Linked DNA regions of Homo sapiens: region 2 is linked to region 1. The links are contacts of gene promoters, found by promoter capture Hi-C in blood cells and fetal thymus (Javierre and others, 2016). All regions are on one chromosome and are shown on one strand. Each heading gives the region's core, a stretch centred on a gene start or on the middle of the fragment in contact. The rest is flanking DNA. Distances are from core to core; before and after follow the strand shown.

Region 1 (4,404 bases), core at 289-2,788:
TCCTTCATTTCAACTTTGGTGAATCTGACAATTATGTGTCTTGGAGTTGCTCTTCTCGAGGAGTATCTTTGTGGTGTTCTCTGTATTTCCTGAATCTGAATGTTGGCCTGCCTTGCTAGATTGGGGAAGTTCTCCTGGATAATATCCTGCAGAGTGTTTTCCAACTTGGTTCCATTCTCCCCATCACTTTCAGTTACACCAATCAGACGTAGATTTGGTCTTTTCACATAGTCCCATTTTTCTTGGAGGCTTTGCTCATTTCTTTTTATTGTTTTTGCTCTAACCTTCCCTTCTCGCTTCATTTCATTCATTTCATCTTCCATTGCTGATACCCTTTCTTCCAGTTGATCGCATCGGCTCCTGAGGCTTCTGCATTCTTCACGTAGTTCTCGAGCCTTGGTTTTCAGCTCCATCAGCTCCTTTAAGCACTTCTCTGTATTGGTTATTCTAGTTATACATTCATCTAAATTTTTTTCAAAGTTTTCAACTTCTTTGCCTTTGGTTTGAATGTCCTCCCGTAGCTCAGAGTAATTTGATCGTCTGAAGCCTTCTTCTCTCAGCTCTTCAAAGTCATTCTCCATCCAGCTTTGTTCCGTTGCTGGTGAGGAACTGCGTTCCTTTGGAGGAGAAGAGGCGCTCTGCGTTTTAGAGTTTCCAGTTTTTCTGTTCTGTTTTTTCCCCATCTTTGTGGTTTTATCTACTTTTGGTCTTTGATGATGGTGATGTACAGATGGGTTTTCGGTGTGGATGTCCTTTCTGTTTGTTAGTTTTCCTTCTAACAGACAGGACCCTCAGCTGCAGGTCTGTTGGAATACCCTGCCGTGTGAGGTGTCAGTGTGCCCCTCCTGGGGGTGCCTCCCAGTTAGGCTGCTCAGGGGTCAGGGGTCAGGGACCCACTTGAGGAGGCAGTCTGACGGTTCTCAGATCTCCAGCTGGGTGCTGGGAGAACCACTGCTCCCTTCAAAGCTGTCAGACAGGGACATTTAAGTCGCAGAGGTTACTGCTGTCTTTTTGTTTGTCTGTGCCCTGCCCCCAGAGGTGGAGCCTACAGTGGCAGGCAGGCCTCCTTGAGCTGTGGTGGGCTCCACCCAGTTCGAGCTGCTTTGTTTACCTAAGCAAGCCTGGGCAATGGCGGGCGCCCCTCCCACAGCCTCGCTGCCGCCTTGCAGTTCGATCTCAGACTGCTGTGCTAGCAATCAGGGAGACTCTGTGGGCGTAGGACACTCCGAGCCAGGTGTGGGATATAGTCTCGTGGTGCGCCGTTTTTTAAGCCGGTCTGAAAAGCGCAATATTCGGGTGGGAGTGAACTGATTTTCCAGGTGCGTCCGTTACCCCTTTCTTTGACTCGGAAAGGGAACTCCCTGACCCCTTGAGCTTCCCAGGTGAGGCAATGCCTCGCCCTGCTTTGGCTCGCGCACCGTGCGCGCACCCACTGGCCTGCACCCACTGTCTGACACTCCCTAGTGAGATGAACCCGGTACCTCAGATGGAAATGCAGAAATCATCCGTCTTCTGCGTGGCTCACGCTGGGAGCTGTAGACCGGAGCTGTTCCTATTCGGCCGTCTTGGCTCCTCCCCCCTTTTCTTTTGTTCTTAATGGTAAATAAAATAATGATGTATCTCGTAATCAATTGATGACATCTTAGAATTGATAAAATATGCTAAACTTCCTTCCTCCTTCTTCTGATCAAGTCACATAATATGTAATCTTAAAAACATTTATTTTAGCTGATTTTGATAAGCATCACATTGTATTCACAGTATTGTTCACATATATAATGTTTACATTAAACATTATTTCACATTTATTAATTATAACATGTAATCTTATATTGCATTGATGCTGGAGAAAAAATCTTTCATTTACTCCCAAATGTATATTTTCACTTCTTTTAAGGCATTTATTATAATAGTCCAAGATCAATTGCAAGTATTCATAAATGCAATAGGAAATGCTATAAATTGATCATTTAAAGAAATCTTAGTAGGTTTAGTTTTTTACAACAGAGCTGCATTGAACAATTACTGCACACATACACTGTGGTAAGGCTGAGAAAGCACACAAATGTTAACATGCAGCCCCAACCTCAGGAAGCTCAACATTTGTCACATTTAATGACATGAATTGATAAGGATTCTTTTTTGGTTTTGTAAGAGAAAAGGTCTTCTGTCATCCAGGCTGGAGTGCAGTGGCACAATCATAGCTTACTGTAACCTCAAACTCCTGGGCTTAAGTGATCCTCCCAACTCAGCCTCCCGAAATGTTGGGATTACAGGTGTGAGCCACTGCACCTGGCCTGAATGTATTCTTTCTAAGGAAATCTGAGGGGTCATAAATAGCATGGGGCACATAATTTTCTTTCTTTCAGATGTACCAAGAGGAAAAAAAAATCACAAACTTTGATAAGTAAAAGACATAAATAATATGATAGTGCTGCATTAAGTAGTACAAAGTGGAACACTTCAGATGTACCCAGCAAATGCTCTTGTTGAACAAAATAGTCTGGGTGTCTGTTCATTTCACTCATAATTACTGAGTGCCCACTCTATACTTAATATGAAGATGTGATGATTAGTTTTATTTGTCAACTTGGCTAGACCACAGTCCCTAATTATTCAATCAAATGTTAATCCAAGTGTTGCCATGAAGGCATTTTGTGTGTTATTAAAGTCCACAATCAATTGATTTTAAGTAAGGGAGATTATACTACATAATCTGAGTGGGCTTGATTTATTCAGTCCATTTAAAGGCCCTGAGAGCAAAGCTAAGGCTTCCCTGAAGAAGAAAAGCAAGCCCTATGAGGTAGCTATTAGCATTATTCCTATTTTACAGACTAGGACACTGAGGCTTAGAGTTCAATATCTGCAGACTTCAGTTCAACTCATGCCCAAGTTCCAAACTGTCCCTCCTGATATCCAGCCCTACAGATTTCAGACTTGTCCAGCCAGTCCCCAAAATCACTTAGGTCTATTTCTTGCAATAAATCACTTAACATCTATTTCTTACTGGTTCCGTTACTCTAGTTGAACCCTGACTTAATATATGAGAAGCAAGGGATACACAAGACAGACTCAGGCCTTGTTCCTACCAATTGTATGGTTTAGTGGAAATGTTACAGGAGAAGCTAAGTGATTACAAGACAGCCTTATGAAGGTAAAAGTACAGATACCTAGCTTAGACTTCAGAGTGTTACGAGTAAGAAAAGTTTCCTGGAAGACTGAAGTTTAATTTGAGAGTTGAAAAACTGAGTATGAATTAAGAAAGTAAAGTGTGTGTGTGCACATGCGTGTTGCAGGCAGTACAGTGATAAAGCATTTCTAGCAGAATACCTACCCTGTGCTAAAGGCTACAGGTAAGAGGGAGCATGGTACAATGGAAGACTGGTAGAAACTTCTGCAAAACTGGTGCACAGAGAGTGAAGGTGGAGTGCTGAGAGATAAAAACTATGGAAATGAGCAGAAGCTAGATCATGAAGTCTTGAGAGTCATGTCAAGTTGCTGGGCACACAGAAGCCACTTAAGGGTTTTTAGTATAGATAACACTTGATCACTTTTAGATTTGGGGAAAATCATTCAGAATGCAATGTGGAGAATTGATTGAGAGAAAATAAAGATTGGGAACTAGAAGAAATAATTCAAATGACTAATCATGGTGACCTAGTTTGGGTGAAAGCAGTGGGAATGGAGAGAATTGCATTGGAGAGATATTTAGACAGTGGAGTGAACAATACGTGGTGATTGATTGAATTTGAGGAATGATGGAGATTGAAAGTCATTGTCAAAACATGATTTCTCACCTAAATAAGTAGGTGGATGATGGGACCATTCACAAAGATGAGAAATAAGAAGGATTAAGTGTGGAGCAGAGGAAGACTATGTTTGAGGTACTTACGGGCATACTGTTGGAGATCACCAGTCAGCAGTTAGCTATGCCAGTTTAAAGGAGAGGAGATGATCTAGGTTCAAAATATGGATCTAAGAGGCATTACTGTATCAATGGAAATTGAAGCTAGGATGCAGATGAGATTGCCTAGGGAGGTAGCAGAGAGAGGGCAGGAAAAATACTGGCGTATACCCTGGAACAACCCCAACATGTCCAATGTGAAAAGAAGATCCCTCACAATAGAAGGCAGTAGTTTTAAAATCAGGTTAAAAACATGACTTAGAATATGGCCTTCCTTAGGATTGTTTTTCTCCACAATTCACTGGTGAATATGAAAATTTATTAAGATCCAAAGACAGCACAATGTTTTCAGTTGTAGATTCACTCACTTTCTATACTAACACGATCTGGCTAGCATTTGTTTTACAGGTTGAAAAGCATTTCCGCGTACATTCATTTCTTCATTCAATTCTGCAAAAATAATGGTAATACCTATGAAGTAGTTATTAGCATTACTCATA
Region 2 (4,297 bases), core at 646-3,145, 250 kb after region 1:
TAACAAAATACCATAGACTGGGTGGCTTAAGCAACAGACATTTATTTCTCTGAGTTTGGAGTCTGGGAAGTCCAAGATCAAGGTGCCTGCTGAGTGAGTTCCTGGCACGAGCTGTCTTCCTGGTTTGCAGAGAAATGCCTTCTTGCATTCTCACATGGTAGAGAGAGAGTAGGAGATTTATGTCTCTTCTTATAAAGGGATTAAAACTACAATGGTGGGGGGGCAAAACATATGACCTTGTCTAAATCTAATTACATCCCAGAGGGTTGACCTCCATATACCATCACATTGGGTATTATTAGGGCTTCAACATATGAATTTGGGGGAAGACACAAAATTCAGTCCATAGCACAGTGGGTACTCTCCAGTAGAATAAAAAAAAAAATTTAAGAAGAAATATAGTAAATGTAGAAAAATACAGACTCTGTTCAGCAAAACCAATGTATTCAAAATTCTAAAACTCTAGTGTTTACTGAGATATTTGAAATAACTTGCCAGGTGCGGTGGCTCACACCTGTAATCCCAGTGCTTTGGGAGGCCAAGGCAGGTGGATCACAAGGTCAGGAGATCGAGACCATCCTGCCTAACACAGTGAAACCCCATCTCTACTAAAAATACAAAAAATTAGCCAGGCGTAGTGGTGGGCGCCTGTAGTCCCAGTTACTCGAGAGGCTGAGGCAGGAGAATGTCGTGAACCTGGGAGGCAGAGCTTGCAGTGAGCAGAGATCGCTCCACTGCACTCCAGCCTGGGTGACAGAGCAAGACTCCGTCTCAAAAAAAAAAAAAAAAAAGAAATAACTTTAGTTGGCTATAGGCAAAACAAATGATTTGTGAAATGACAAAACATGATACAGGATTTCTGGAGAATTTGACACAGTACACAGAGAAAAGTTGCAGAAAGAATAAATATTCTTTCCTGACTCCAAATGAGAAAAGGTACTGCTCAGAGATAAAATTAAAGACAAGAAAATTGGATATCTGTTTCAGGAAATAAAACTAACATTTTAAATCAGATTATTGAAGTATCCCCCAACCTTATTATTTTAGGTTGATCTGCTAAGTAAACCCATTGGGCAAATCTTATGCAGGCAGGTAGCTAAATTAAGTGGCCCAAGAATTCTTTTCAATTTCCAATTTCTTTGACTTATAACACAATTAAGAAATTTATAATGAGGTGAAAAATAGAATTACTTAGAAGGGATATTATCATATCTCATTTGTATTTGATTTAAACTGAAACCTAATCACTTTGAAAAGCTTTGTGCTGACTGAGTTATTTTCTGCTACGTGGTGGATGCTCTTTCTTATTTGTTCACCATGGTCTGCTTTTATTTGAAATATTATGGTATTTAATAACATGTCTAGCCATAACCACAGAGTTTCTTACAGCTTTTAATATCAGCAACATAACTCTTCTACTCTCTTGACTTAGCATTTCAAAAGTGAGGTTCATAAAAATCCTATTTGTAGAGCAAACATCTAACTCCAATTTCATGTACCAAATTTGGTAGCCATGGATTTCTTTATCTCCAGTGCATTTGCATTAACATAAGATGATAATGTTGCTAGCTTCTCTACCAAATAACATTCTAGCATAAGCCACAGCAAGGGCAAAAGCCCAGCAAAATTCAAGGATGTGACATACCCAGAGAATGCTAATATTCAGTGTAGCTGAAAAACTATGTATGAATGAAAAGGAATATCAAATTCTCGTGTAAAATACTTATTTTGAGTTTGAAATACTTAATTGTGACCAAAAAATTGTTTCTTTTCATATAAAAATAGAAGGACATCCTGGAGAACTGTGGCTGTCTCTGGAAAAGGTACTTTTGACTTCAAAATGTCACTGAAGAATTTGTGCCAGAAGCCTCCTTGAAGGCACACTTTTGATGAAAGAAAAAAGGATTTCTGGTTTTGAAAGCTCTTTTTCTCAGAAAAAAAAAAAAAAAAAACCTTAGCAGAGGCACAAATTGAAAAATGTACAATATATGATCATTGAATCTTTTTAAAAGTTAGTGCTAGGCAAGAAAAGCAATGGAAGAATTTCAGACACTACAGGAAACTCCTCAAATTCATATTTCCCTCTTACTGGCCTTGAAACTTGAAAATGAATGCAGATTTATGTGTCCCCACCCATCAAGTTCACACGTTGAAGCCCCAGTACCCAATGTGATGGTATTTGGAGGTCAAGCCTCTGAGAGGTAATTAGTTTTAAACACGGTCATGTGGGTGCCCCCCTGACACACACCACTGTGGGATTAGTGCCCTTGTAGGAACAGACACAAGAGAAATCTCTCTGCACCAGAGAGAGATCCCTCACCAGGAACTGAATCAGTCTTACTTTGAGCTTGGAATTCCCAGACTCCAAACTGAGAGAAATAAACGTCTGTTGCTTAAGCCACCCAGTCTATAGCATTTTGTTATAGCAGCCTGTGCTAAGACATACTGCAAACTAGTAGACAGCTAGGAAAGCTGATAGTTATATTAACTTTATTATTTACTGTTCTTCCGTTTCACATTGTTTGTGGCAGATGAAGCTTGCAGAACAGTTGGAGCAATAAAGCAGCCCAGGTATTTGTGGTGTTCCTTGACCCACAGGCTGGGGCAGCCACCCAGCAGAAGTGGAACAATAGAGCTGTTGCCCCTCCTAGAGAAGCTGCTGAAAGCCGGGGAGAAACACTCAAAGCTTCACCCCTCCTCCTTCAGTCCAGTCTCCTGCCAGTGTCTCCCATCAGAAACCAGCTGGCAAGGCAGCCAGGAAAACACAGACTGCAAGGATCAGCCTCTTAGCATACAGGACACAGCACAGGGAGGGCAAGAAACATATTCAAGAGCAAACAAATGACAGGCACACCTTGAAAATAGTGGTCAAGAGACAAAAGTGCTTCTACTGGTACAAAAGTACTCTGTGTGCTCTCTCTCTCTCTCTCTCTCTGTGTGTGTGTGTGTGTGTGTGTGTGTGTGTTTTCTTAGAAGTTACTTTGTTTTGTTTTGTTTTGAGATATGATCATTACTATTTAATATGATCTTCTCAAGAAGCCCGGTAATATTGGACACTTCCTTCTAAAGCAGTGATAGAAGGATACTGGTATACTTCAAGAATGGATGGTAATATATGCATGAGATATATCTTTTAGTTCATGTATTGCTCTTAGGCATCAGTTGTAGCTTGCCTCACTGTGTCACCCAGGCTGGAGTATAGTGGCATGATTTCCACTCACTGCAACCCCCACCTCCGAGGTTCAAGCGATTCTCCTGCCTCAGCCTCCTCAGTAACTGGGACTACAGGCATGCATCACCATGCCCAGCTATTTTTTGTATGTTTAGTAGAGACGGGGTTTCGCCATGTTGGCCAGGCTGGTCTCGAACTCCTGACTTCAAGTGATCCACCCGCCTTGGCATCCCAAAGTGCTGGGATTACAGGCATGAGCCACCGTGCCCAGCCCCTTATTCACTCATTTTAATGGTGCACTTCTGAAATTTGCTCCCACCAAAACGGCACAACCATGGCCTTGTCAGCCTCCAAGGAATGTGGTGTGAACATGGATCATTCTAACCATACGGAGGCACAGTAAGACCAGGACTTAATTTGAGCCTCTGAACTGAGCATAGGGTTTAATGAACCACTTCTCCACTGTGATAAAGTATACTAGCAAAACTGCTATGGTTTGTATGCACAGCCTGCAGCTGAACCCATTACAGGATGCATTATTTGATAGGAGGTCTGAAAGACTGAAGAGCAATTACTCTCTACAACCAAGGGCAAATGGCAACTGTGGAGCTTGGCCTTTTCTCATTTCTTGGTTTCCTGAGGTCAGAGTTCTCTACAATGACAAAACCTCTTTGCTCTGGCTCATTTGAAAAGCAATGTCATTTTAAAGGTTAGATTTTGCGTGTGTGTGTATGTGTGTGTATGTGTGTGTGTGTCTGTGTGTGTAAGATAGAGAGAGGATTTTATAGTGATTTTTATGACAATCAATTAAAAAAATGCTTTGGAAACATTTATTGAGAGGGGTCACAAAGGTAAATGTCGTGTTGAAAGGAAACAGATAGTTCTGGCTCTTCCAAATCTGTTTTACCAGAACCCAAGGCCTAGGAAAGGGACAACAGTCCTCGATGAAGTCCATTACTGGGCCCTGAGAATAATCTTTCCTTACCTTCCTGCATATCATTTTCCTTTCCTCCTCTCTCCCCTCCCCTTTCCCCAAGATACAGAGCTGGCTGGGAGGCCAGCTTAACCATGTCCCACCCCCTTTCTCTCACTTTGCCCCAGGACAGTCAGAGCTAAACTCACAAA

The links. Contacts are between HindIII fragments. The CHiCAGO score rates a contact against its expected background, and 5 or more counts as called.
Region 2: a fragment that was not itself captured here is called in contact with the fragment with the promoter of LINC02108 in region 1 in 1 of 17 cell types (endothelial precursors); the score reaches 5.2 in endothelial precursors.

What each region holds. Positions count from the first base shown.
Region 1 is chr5:58,556,705-58,561,108 of GRCh38, forward strand. LINC02108 (long intergenic non-protein coding RNA 2108) reads right to left here and starts at 1,539. Exons shown (of 4, transcript NR_109904.1): 1 at 1,482-1,539. The HindIII fragment of the contact is 10,011 bases long and covers 1-4,404 here.
Region 2 is chr5:58,807,452-58,811,748 of GRCh38, forward strand. All of the region lies in intron 3 of RAB3C (RAB3C, member RAS oncogene family), which reads left to right. Among named protein-coding and RNA genes, the nearest start is that of RAB3C, 230 kb to the left of the region's middle. The HindIII fragment of the contact is 1,280 bases long and covers 1,256-2,535 here.